3 separate regions of the Homo sapiens genome follow, and all the other regions are linked to region 1. The links are contacts of gene promoters, found by promoter capture Hi-C in blood cells and fetal thymus (Javierre and others, 2016). All regions are on one chromosome and are shown on one strand. Each heading gives the region's core, a stretch centred on a gene start or on the middle of the fragment in contact. The rest is flanking DNA. Distances are from core to core; before and after follow the strand shown. Region 1 holds the start of ITLN2 (intelectin 2). Region 2 has its middle 19 kb from the start of SLAMF1. Region 3 holds the start of LOC124904439 (endogenous retrovirus group K member 18 Env polyprotein).

Region 1 (3,373 bases), core at 516-3,015:
GGAGGGCAAACCCACTAACGGGGGTGAGGCCTGGGAACTGCTGGGGAAGGGACCAGCTGTAACTCAGAGCAGGCTGATTTTGATGGGAGAATGGGAGCTGGCTACAGGACAGGAAGGAAAGGGGAGAGTACACCCCAGGAAGAGAAGAAAGCACATGAGATGGCCTGAAGCAATAACAGAGCCCAGCCCAGCCCAGCCTGCCAAAAACTACAGGTCAGTCGCTTATTGTGGCTGGAACATATGTTGTAATACAAAGAAGTCTGGAAACCAAAGCTGAAAAATTAACAGAGGCCAGTGGATGAAGGGCCATGTATATAAGTCTAAAAGCCTAGAAATCATTCCAAAAGCCTGGCAGAGCGGGAAAAAGTGTAAAATTACAGGACTCAGGCCAGGCACAGTGGCTCATGCCGGTAATCCCAGCACTTTCGGAGGCCGAGGAGGGTGGATCACAAGATCAGGAGTTCAAGAACAGCCTGGTCAATATGGTGAAACCCCATCTCTACTAAAAATACAAAAATTAGCTGGGGTGTGGTGGTGCACACCTGTAATCCCAGCTACTGGGGAGGCTGAGGCAGGAGAAGCTCTTTAACCCAGGAGACGGAGGTTGCAGTGAGCCGACATCACGCCACCGCACTCCAACCTGGGCAACAGAGCAAGACTCCGTCTAAAAAAAAAAAAATTACAGGACTCAAGGTAAAATCCAGACAAACCCTGATGACAGTGCCTCCTTGAGCAGACACTTAACATCTCTGATCCTTTTTCTTCATCTTTAAGATGTCATTAATAACTTCTTTATACGCATGGAGATCAAATGAGATGACATATGTAAATGTGCTTTTTTTAACTGATGGATTGAAATAAACAATAAACCCAGTATCAATGAAAAAATATCACTATTGTGCCTACTGGAAGAATAGAATTGTGAGGATTCTATTCTCACAATATCCTCCTCTGCGACTAGAGGAGGGTGTACCCTGGACACAGCACTGATCACCCAGCTGCCTCTGGAGATCCCAAGGCCAAGGCCACAAGAGCAGCTGAGCAGGGACACAGTTCTTACTCTCTCACCCCATGAACCCCTCACAGCCACAGAAGCAGAGAATCAAGCCCTAGGAAATACCTGAGCTAACACCCTGACTGCTTCAGACCAGACCCCAGGAGAGGCCAGAAATCAGCACCCAGTCCACACCTCAAGTTGGCTGCCTAGCCTGGGTTCCCTGCCTCTCCAGAACTTCCCCTTTGACCCTTGACTTCAGAGCCCTGCCCAGCTCTACTCCCTCCAGGCCCTGCACAGCAGAGGGGAGCCCAGGAAACTGCAGCTCCTACTCTCAGAAGCCATTTACCTGCACTGCACCCACTGGTGGCCACAGAGAAGAATAACAGGAAGCAGAGTCTGGTCATTGTCCTCTAAGGAAAAACAAGATGCACAAGGTCACTGGCTGGCCCTTCCTTTGTCATCCTCTCGTTCTTACTTCCTAACCTTTCTGAGTCAGGAATCCTCAAATGGAAAGTGATGGGCTCATGAGCATTCTAAAACCTCCTGGAATATGCCCCACGGCTGTCCAACACTACAAATACCCAAGGGGCCATGGGCTCATTTCCCTGAAACTCTAAATCTCTAAAACTGAGACCTGAGCTGGCATCATTGCTCCCACACACATGGATCAAAAACATTTTTCTCACCAGCATGGACAGCATCCTTACAGATGCCAGGAGCTGATAGTTCCCTTCCTGTGGACACTCGGAGCTCCCCTGCAGAGGATCCTGATGAAGGGTGAAGTGCTGGTCCCTTTATGTGGAGAGCTGTGGAGAGCCAAACCACCTGAGCCCTGCCCAGCCCAACCCTGAGCAGCCTAGGCTGCTAGCCCCTCCCTCTGAAGCCCTTCCCTCTGAGGGTACCTGAGCCTGGGACCGTGGAAATGAGAAAGGACGTGCGACTGGCTGGAGGAGCAGGGAGCTGTGTTCCTGGCCACACAGGTGACTGTCGCCATCTGAGGAGGGGCATCCTGCTTTGCCAAGGCAGGCCATACAATGTAGCAGTATCTAATCAGATTCGTGGATAGGTCACAATCCTCCCCTGCGTTCTCCCTCTCCCACCTCCCCCAGATGCCCTGGCCCCCTAGACACAACTCTGTCAAGAAATCATCCTTTTAGACTGAGGTGACACCTCATGAAAAATAAATTAATTAATTAAGAATAATAATTGGCCAGGCACAGTGGCTCACACCTATAATCATAGCGCTTTGGGAGGCCGAGGTGGGCGGATTACCTGAGGTCAGGAGTTCAAGACCAGCCAACATGGTGCAACCCTGTCTCTACTAAAAATACAAAAATTTAGCTGGGTGCAGTGGCGTGCACCCGTAATCCCAGCTACTCTGGAGGCTGAGACAGGAGAACTGCTTGAACCCAGGAGGTGGAGGTTGCAGTGAGCCAAGACTGCTCCACTGCACTCCAGCCTGGGCAACAGAGCAAGACTTCACCTCAAAATAATAATAATAATAATAATAATAAATAAATGGGAAAAGAAGACATCATCCTTCCAATCTTTCCTCCAATTTCTCTATGAGGCCTTCCCTGACACCCCCATCACCAGACAAAGCTGATGGATCCTTCCTTTGTCCCACTATACACTGTCCAAACACTAATTATTGCATGTATCCTGCTGTAATTTTATTGTTTTATTAACTCTGTTTAGAAACAATTTGAAATTTATTAAATGTTGCAAAAATAACAATAATATAAAGCCACATATATGCCCTTTACCTAGATTCAACTATTGTTAATATTTCACCCCATTTGCTTTATCTTTCGTGTTCTCTCTCTCTCTCTCTATATATATATAGATATATGTATATAAAATACACCCACACACACAAAATTTTTTTCTGAACCATTTGAAGGTAAGGTACATACATCATGGGCTTTTACCTTTAAATAAATGCGTATGGGTTTTTTTTATTTTGTTTTGTTTTTTGACACAGAGCCTCACTCTGTCACCCAGGTTGGAGTGCAATGGCATGGTCTCAGCTTACTGCAACCCCCGCCTCCCAGGTTCAAGTGATTCTCCTGTCTCAGCCTCCCGAGTAACTGGGATTACAGGCACCCACCACCACGCCCAGCTAATTTTTGTATTTTTAGTAGATACGGGGTTTTGCCATCTTGGCCAGGCTGGTCTTGAACTCGTGACCTCGTGATCCACCTGCCTCGGCCTCCCAAGTGCTGGGATTATAGGTGTAAGCCACCATGCCTGGCCAACTGTGTGTTTTCTAATAATAGGAATATGTCATGTATAACCACAGTACAATTATCAACATCATATTATTAAAAACTCTTTTTTTGGGCTGGGCGCGGTGGCTCACGCCTGTAATCCCAG
Region 2 (3,373 bases), core at 375-2,874, 290 kb before region 1:
GTGAGAGAAATTTAGGTAGACCTACAGGCTAGGAACAGATTTGAAGAAATGATGGGTCTTAACTGGAGAAGTAGCAATGAGGTGGGAGAGAAGGAGATCCATTGGAGAGTTATCTCATAGGTGGATTTTTCAGGGTTTGGTGACTTATTGAATGTGGGCTGTGAAGGAGAGTGGCCTATATACTATGGCCTTTACACTTCCAGTTCAGTTTCCCAGTAGATGGCAATGCCATTCTCTAAGAAAGGAAGTATAAGAGGTGGAGATAACTTAGGGGCAAAATTGAGAGCAAGGGGTATAAGATTATTTGTTGGCTTGGGATATGGTCAGTTTAAATGTTTACGGTTCATGCATATGGAGATTTCCAGGGGCTATTTGAAAACACAGAGCTGACTTTGAGAGGAGAAGTATAATCTGAAGGAAAGCAAACAAATATAGAAGTCATATTTTCAACTCCTTCATTTCACCCCAAGAAAGCTAATACTTAGAGACTAAAACTTCTAAGGGACTTACCATATGGCTAGTTTTTGAAAAGCCGTAACCAGAAACCAAATCTCTTGGGTTTAGGTCAATCCACCCATATCCTGATTGAGTTTCATTATGCTCTATTTACCTTCATGGTTCCCCAATCTAACAATGCCTGGCATACAGCAAGTGCTAAAAATGTTTGTGGAATGAATATACTGATTGTGGCCTTTTTTGGTGGGGGTAGAACTGGCCCCACACCTTCACATCATCACTGGAATTATGCCTCAGAAGCATCTTGGAAGTCAGCAGACCTAGGGAAGTCCTACTTAGCCATGAAATTTGCATTTCCCCAGGTACCTCCCAACCCCTCTCCACTTCCTCTGAGAGCAAAACCTCCGTTGTTCATGTCACACCCATGGGCAGCCTTTGTGCTCAGTACACAGACCTGATTGAGAAGATTGATAAAAGCAAAATAGAAAGAAGCCGTGATCTGGGTCATATGAGTTATACAACCATTTCCCTCTTATTTTACACTTGGGGAAACTTAAGCTAAGAGATCTTGTCTTAATTCATTAAAATTAGAGTTGCCAGCCCAGAAGAGAGGAAGGAGAAGTTTGGGACAGAGGAAGGCAACTAATACTTATTGAGCACTTACTGTATGGCAGACTTTATGTGGAATGATTTATTGAGGTTATCTCATTTAATCCTGATTTTAAAAATCATCCACATACGGAAACCGAGGTTTAGAAAGTTTACTTTTCCTGAGGTTCAGAAGCTGGTAAATGACGGTTCTGGAACTCAAACTCAAGGCTGTCTGGCTCCAAAGGTCATGCTCCTTCCCCTATACCACACAACCTCCCAGAAGCTTGAAATGTGGTTCTGGGTACTAGGTATAAGCTTGAAGACCAACCAAACATGCTCATTCCAGTGCTCTCTCTAGGAGCCAACAAGCCCTCCAACATTGCCCCCCTAGAAGGTCCTGCAAAATTGAGTTGTCTAGGGTTTGACAGAGTCCAGAAGACATTTTCGAACATAAGAAGGGCAATGGGTCAAGCCCCAGGGAGTACCCAGTAGTATCAACAAAGAAAGGAGAATGTGTATTTGACTTCCAGCCTCAGCCCTGCTGGTAACTTGCCAGACGGCCTTGGCCTGGCCACTTCCTTCCTGTCCTCCACCAAGATTACAGAAAATTAGGAAATGCAAATTTTATGGGCTTCCCTGCTGACGATTTCTAAGTCTTCTTTGTAGTAATCATTCCTATCACAAAGAGGGTGGGAAACGGTGATTATGGACCAGGGAGAGAGTCCTATTCCTAAGAAGTGGTTCTTGGACTTTGGAGAGGCAACAATTGGTTTGAGTCTTAACAAATGAGTGGGAGTTTGTTAGGTCAACGAGGAGTGGGAGGGGATTCCAGGAAGTGTAAAAGCTTGAGCAAAGGCATTGAGTAAATTCGGGGAACTGCTAGCAGTTCAGGAAGGTTGCAGCATTCAGTGCAAAGGAGGGGCCAAACTAGAAATTGGACAGGAGAAAATCACAGAAACCAAGCCACATAAGGATCAGTAGAACCCTGTAGGCTCTCCAACGAGCCTATCCTTGAAGGATTTAAGCATGAAAATGTTGTCATTATTAAACCTAGGCTTTAAAGAGGTCCTTCTGCTCTGTGTTGCTGTCCTCTGCCAGAGATAGCAAGACTGACAGAGGCTGTGCTCCTGTAGCCTGGGAGCCAGAATGGAGAGACACATTGGGCAGAGCCCGGCAGAGTCACAGGAACTTGTAGTCCCCATCTGTTTATTATTCATGGAAGCTTTCTCCTTTTCTTGATTGGATCAACAGAAAAATAAACTGTCGTCTTTGGCAGATGATTCAATGGGAATTCAAGGGTTTCAATGGGAATTCAAGGTTGAAAATGATAATGTACTCTGAGAACTCACAGGTCTATAAAAGGAGAGGCCTATACAAGGAAAGAAGAGGATGTGGTAAATGCAGAACAGACCCTCAGCATCTTGAAGGACCATCAAGGGGAAATAAGTATTGCAGACCTTTCATTAATCTGTGTAGTTAACTTTTTATTTGAAAATAATGTCAAAAGAGCTGCAAGAAAAAATTATTATTAATAATAGTACAAAGAACACGCTTATAAATATCCTGCAGGGAGGGGTCTACAAGTTGGCTGTGACTGTGAATACCTCTCTGTAATGTTTTGCCCATTTTGCTTTAATATTAGCTAGTTCTCTCTCTCTCTCTCTTTCTGTCTCTATTTGAACTATTATAGGGTAGGTTGCATATGGCATGGCTCTTTATCTTAAATACATCAGTGTAAAGAATTAGGATAATTTCTGACACAACTACAATATAGTTATCACTTAAGTAAATTTTACATTGATAACAATATTCTTGTCTAACCTACTGTTTGCATTTCAATTTTGTCGGTTGACCCTTTGTAACCATAATTTTCCCTCCAGGTCAGGATCCAGTCCAGTATTAGGTATTGCATTTAGTTGTTGTATCTCTTTAGTACCCTTCAACTGTAACATTTCCACAGCTATATCTTCTCCTTTATGACATGGATATATTTGAAGAATGCAGTCTTCCCACCCTTTCCCTTTTTTTTTTTTTTTCTTGAGGTGGAGTCTTGCTCTGTCACCCAGGCTGGAGTGCAGTGGTACAATCTCGGCTCACTGCAATCTCCACCTCCCGGGTTCAAACGATTCTTCTGCCTCAGCCTCCTGAGTAGCTGGCATGCACCACCACACCCAGCTAATTTTTTTGTATTTGTATTTTTAGTAGAGATGGGGTTTCACCATGTTGGTCAGGCTGGTCTCAAACTCCTGACCTCATGATCCGCCTGCCTCAGCCTCCCAAAGTCCTGGGATTACAGCCTCTCTTTTTTAATAGCAAATTCCTCACT
Region 3 (3,373 bases), core at 778-3,277, 270 kb before region 1:
ACACAGTCTCCGTAGTCCACATGTGGGAGTAGAGATAAAGAAATCAGTGCAGTTAAGGAGGGTAGACAGAGCCCAGGAAGACCACAAAACAGCAACGTTCTCAGAGGCCAGAATCCCTGATGACTGGGCATGACAGGGGTCACAGGTGAATGTGAGCACCTCAGGTCTGAGTTATTCTAGAAGAATGTGTACGCTAGGGCTCAGGGATCTGACTTCAGGATTGTGGAGGGTATCTGACTCTGGTATTTCCCAGAGTGCTGGAGATATTGATCCAAGTTTATTAAGGGTCCCCAAAACTCTAAGAGACTGCGTCTCATTTAGCTCCCGCTTACTAAGGACTTGTCAGCCACTGTGATAGGCAGTTACGTGTCTTGTCTCATTGAATCCTTAGCACGAGATAGGAACTGTTATTTTGTCCTTTATTTAGGAAGAACATGACTTGGGGAAGCTAAGTAACTTGTTTAGCTAGTAAGTGACAGTCCTAGAAGTGACCCCAGGTATGACTGACTCTAAAACCCATGGCCTTAGCTGTCCCATGCTAGCACCAGTGTAGGCCTGATCTAGAGCCAGGTGTGACACTCATGAGTGGATCCTCCCAGGAGACAGGGGAATCTGGCTTCCTAAGTTCATCTAGGAACATCAGGCTGGGGAGGAGAAGCTTCGCCTGAGGCTCAGGCTCTCACGCCTCCTCGACGGCCTCTCTCAGGCCCGTCTCCTCAGTCCCTCTTTCCCTGGCTGACTTTGGCGGTCTAATGACCTCGGTCCCTCTTTCCTTGGCTGACTTCGGCTGTCTAATGAAGCCCCTCTAGACAGCTGCTCGCCCACTTGCCCTTCCTTCTCCCTGCTCACCCTGATGTTTCAGTCTACTCTATGATGACCCTGGCCTCAGATGTTAGGACTATGCTTTGTTAGAGCGGGAGAGGGAAGAGGAGTATCAGAGATCTCTCCCAAACGTCCTTTGCAGGTGAGAACACTGAGCCCCCACGAAGTTGAGGTAAGCTGGCTGGGAGGTGGTGGTAGAGCTGGTGGCAGAACCCACGTCTCCCAGCTCTCCCAGACACCTTAGGGATTCACCACCACACTGTGCAAGGAGGCTGAATAGGACCCCCAGCCTTTCTTTGTTCAAAACAACTCCAGTTACCCTGTGCCCCCCTCAGCTCCCAGGGATCCTTCTTACCCAGGGTACAGGGTGGACTGAGGCAGACCGTGCCATTCTTGCTGCTCACAGAATTGCTGACTTGGCAAGTATAACACCTGGAGTAATTATGTGGCATAAGGGTGGTTTCAAGCACACTGTTCTGGAGCTCCTTTGGGAAGGGCCTTTTGTCCCCATACCAGGTGTAGTTTACAGACTCGCCAGGTATCACACATGACAGTTTCAGATAACAGTTGTCATCCATGTCTTCTATCTTCTCAATTTTGATGACAGGCTTGGGTACAGGGTCTGAAAGTGAGGAGGATGTTATAAGATGAGACAGTGAGGCATTCATGCTGTGAAGGTTTAGCCAACAAAGAACAAAGGGATCCAGGGAAGGGGCCTGAATGCCCCAGGAGGCAGAGTCATGAAGAAGAAGTTCTACAGAGGGAGCCAGTGAGCAGCCTTGACCTCCTGAGGCCTCACAGACTCACTGCAAGAGCGGCTTCTAGGCAGTGAAGCTAAGCTGCGTCCTGGAGGGGGCGCCACAGTCCATCATATGCTCTGGGAACAAAATGGGGTTATGATCGTGTGTGAGCCTGAACGAACAGCCCAGAGACTTGCTGGGGTCAGACTTAGTATATCAACTGCCTGAGATGCTCAGGGACCCTTCTCTAGCAACGGTTCATGGCGGGCACCTTGGCTGGTCTGTCTTTCCAATTATCGGATTCAGCTTCAGCAAGAGTCCTAAGGTAAGAGGTACCTGTCTGCGCGTGGCAAAGTCCTTTGCACAACCATCCAGTGCAGGTGCCAGCCTTCTAGACTCTGGCAGAGCTACAGAGAAGAACTTCATGTAACTTCCAGCCGCATCAATTGTGATAAACAGATTGGTCTGCTAACTTTGGTATCTCCATGTCTAGCACAATCCCTGCCACATGGCAGGTATTCTATAAGTATCTCATGAAAGGATGAATGAAGTAGTTATGAGATAGAAAGGATAAAACACAGCCGGGTGCAGCGGCTCACACCTGTAATCTCAGCAATTTGGGAGGCTGAGGCAGGAGGATTGCTTGCAGCCAGGAGTTAAGAGACCAGCCTGGGCAACATTGAGAGACTCAGTTTCTAAAAAAAAAAAAGAAAGAAAAGAAAAGAAAAGTAGCCAGGTGTGGTGGTGTGCACTTTTAGTCCCTGCTACTCAGGAGGCTGAGGTAGGAGGATTGCTGGAGCCCAGGAGTTCCAGGGTGCAATAAACTATGATTATACCACTGCACTCCAGCTTGGGTAAGGAGAAGACCTTCAAAAAAAAAAAAAAAAGAAGAAAGAAAGGAAGAAAGAGAGAGAGAAGGGAAGAGAAGAGAGGAAAAAGAAAAAGAAGGGAGGGAGGGAGGGAGGGAGGCAAGTAGACACAAAAACACTAGTTTTGGAGTGAGACCAGCCTGGGTCCTGGACTTGACTCTAGTGGAGTGACATTAGGCAAGGTAGTTAACCCCCTTGCTGTCATCTGTAAACTGACTCTACCTCATCGCGCAATGTTAGTAAGATAAAACGTCACCTGTCATGGATAATTGCTTTTTGAAGAGTGTAAGTATTGCATACATTCTAGAGGCCATTTTACCATTATTACTGTTGTACTGCTGCCGGAGAGAATGAGAGATAGTCCCAGCATCTGGTCCTTCCTTGGCTAAGGCCGGTTTACCTGCAATCCTCTGAGATCTTTTCATTCTGGTCAGGGTGAAACATCTGCAGAATCAATGCAACTCAAATCCCATAAGATTAAAAATTGGCAGAGAATTGACCAGATCAGAGCTTGCCTCTTGGTTGTATGTGTGGAGAGGCTCTAGAAGCTCTACCAATCTGGTCTCTAGAACTCTAGTTTTGTCTCCTCTGTGAAGCTGATCTCAGATCGCTAAAAGATTGCTCAGACTACAGAGGTGATAAAAGTTTCCTGGACTTCCCCTATATGTTTTAATTGAGCAATTTTTATCCTGGTTTTCACCATTTCCTGTGTTCTAGCCTCATATCTTACACTCCTTCTGCATTTCCCATGGTGATCAGCACAGCACTGGGCACTTTGCTGATGGAATTAATTGAGCCAGCTTGGGTTGTCCAGCTCCAAGATGCTCGCTTTGAGCTGTCAGAAATGCTTGGGCTGGACCAGAGGACCATTTTTTCTGCTAATCACTTCCTGGAAATCTTACCCTCAGGCAGGATGTGCTGAAGCCCAAGCCAGTTTGTGGA

The links. Contacts are between HindIII fragments. The CHiCAGO score rates a contact against its expected background, and 5 or more counts as called.
Region 2: a contact is called between a fragment that was not itself captured here and the fragment with the promoter of ITLN2 in region 1, in 2 of 17 cell types (M2 macrophages and total B cells). The highest score is 8.0, in M2 macrophages.
Region 3: a fragment that was not itself captured here is called in contact with the fragment with the promoter of ITLN2 in region 1 in 15 of 17 cell types (total B cells, naive CD4 T cells, total CD4 T cells and 12 more); the score reaches 14.5 in total B cells.

The regions. Positions count from the first base shown.
Region 1 is chr1:160,953,044-160,956,416 of GRCh38, forward strand. ITLN2 (intelectin 2) reads right to left here and starts at 1,766. Exons shown (of 8, transcript NM_080878.3): 1 at 1,684-1,766; 2 at 1,344-1,407. The coding sequence starts at 1,698. The HindIII fragment of the contact is 24,751 bases long and covers 1-3,373 here.
Region 2 is chr1:160,664,076-160,667,448 of GRCh38, forward strand. No RefSeq gene overlaps it. Among named protein-coding and RNA genes, the nearest start is that of SLAMF1, 19 kb to the left of the region's middle. RefSeq lists enhancers at 1,346-1,405, 1,419-1,980. The HindIII fragment of the contact is 529 bases long and covers 1,361-1,889 here.
Region 3 is chr1:160,680,025-160,683,397 of GRCh38, forward strand. CD48 (CD48 molecule) reads right to left here. Exons shown (of 4, transcript NM_001778.4): 3 at 1,178-1,444. It overlaps LOC124904439 (endogenous retrovirus group K member 18 Env polyprotein), which reads left to right and starts at 3,182. Exons shown (of 1, transcript XM_047438433.1): 1 at 3,182-3,373. RefSeq lists an enhancer at 1,410-1,499. The HindIII fragment of the contact is 2,742 bases long and covers 657-3,373 here.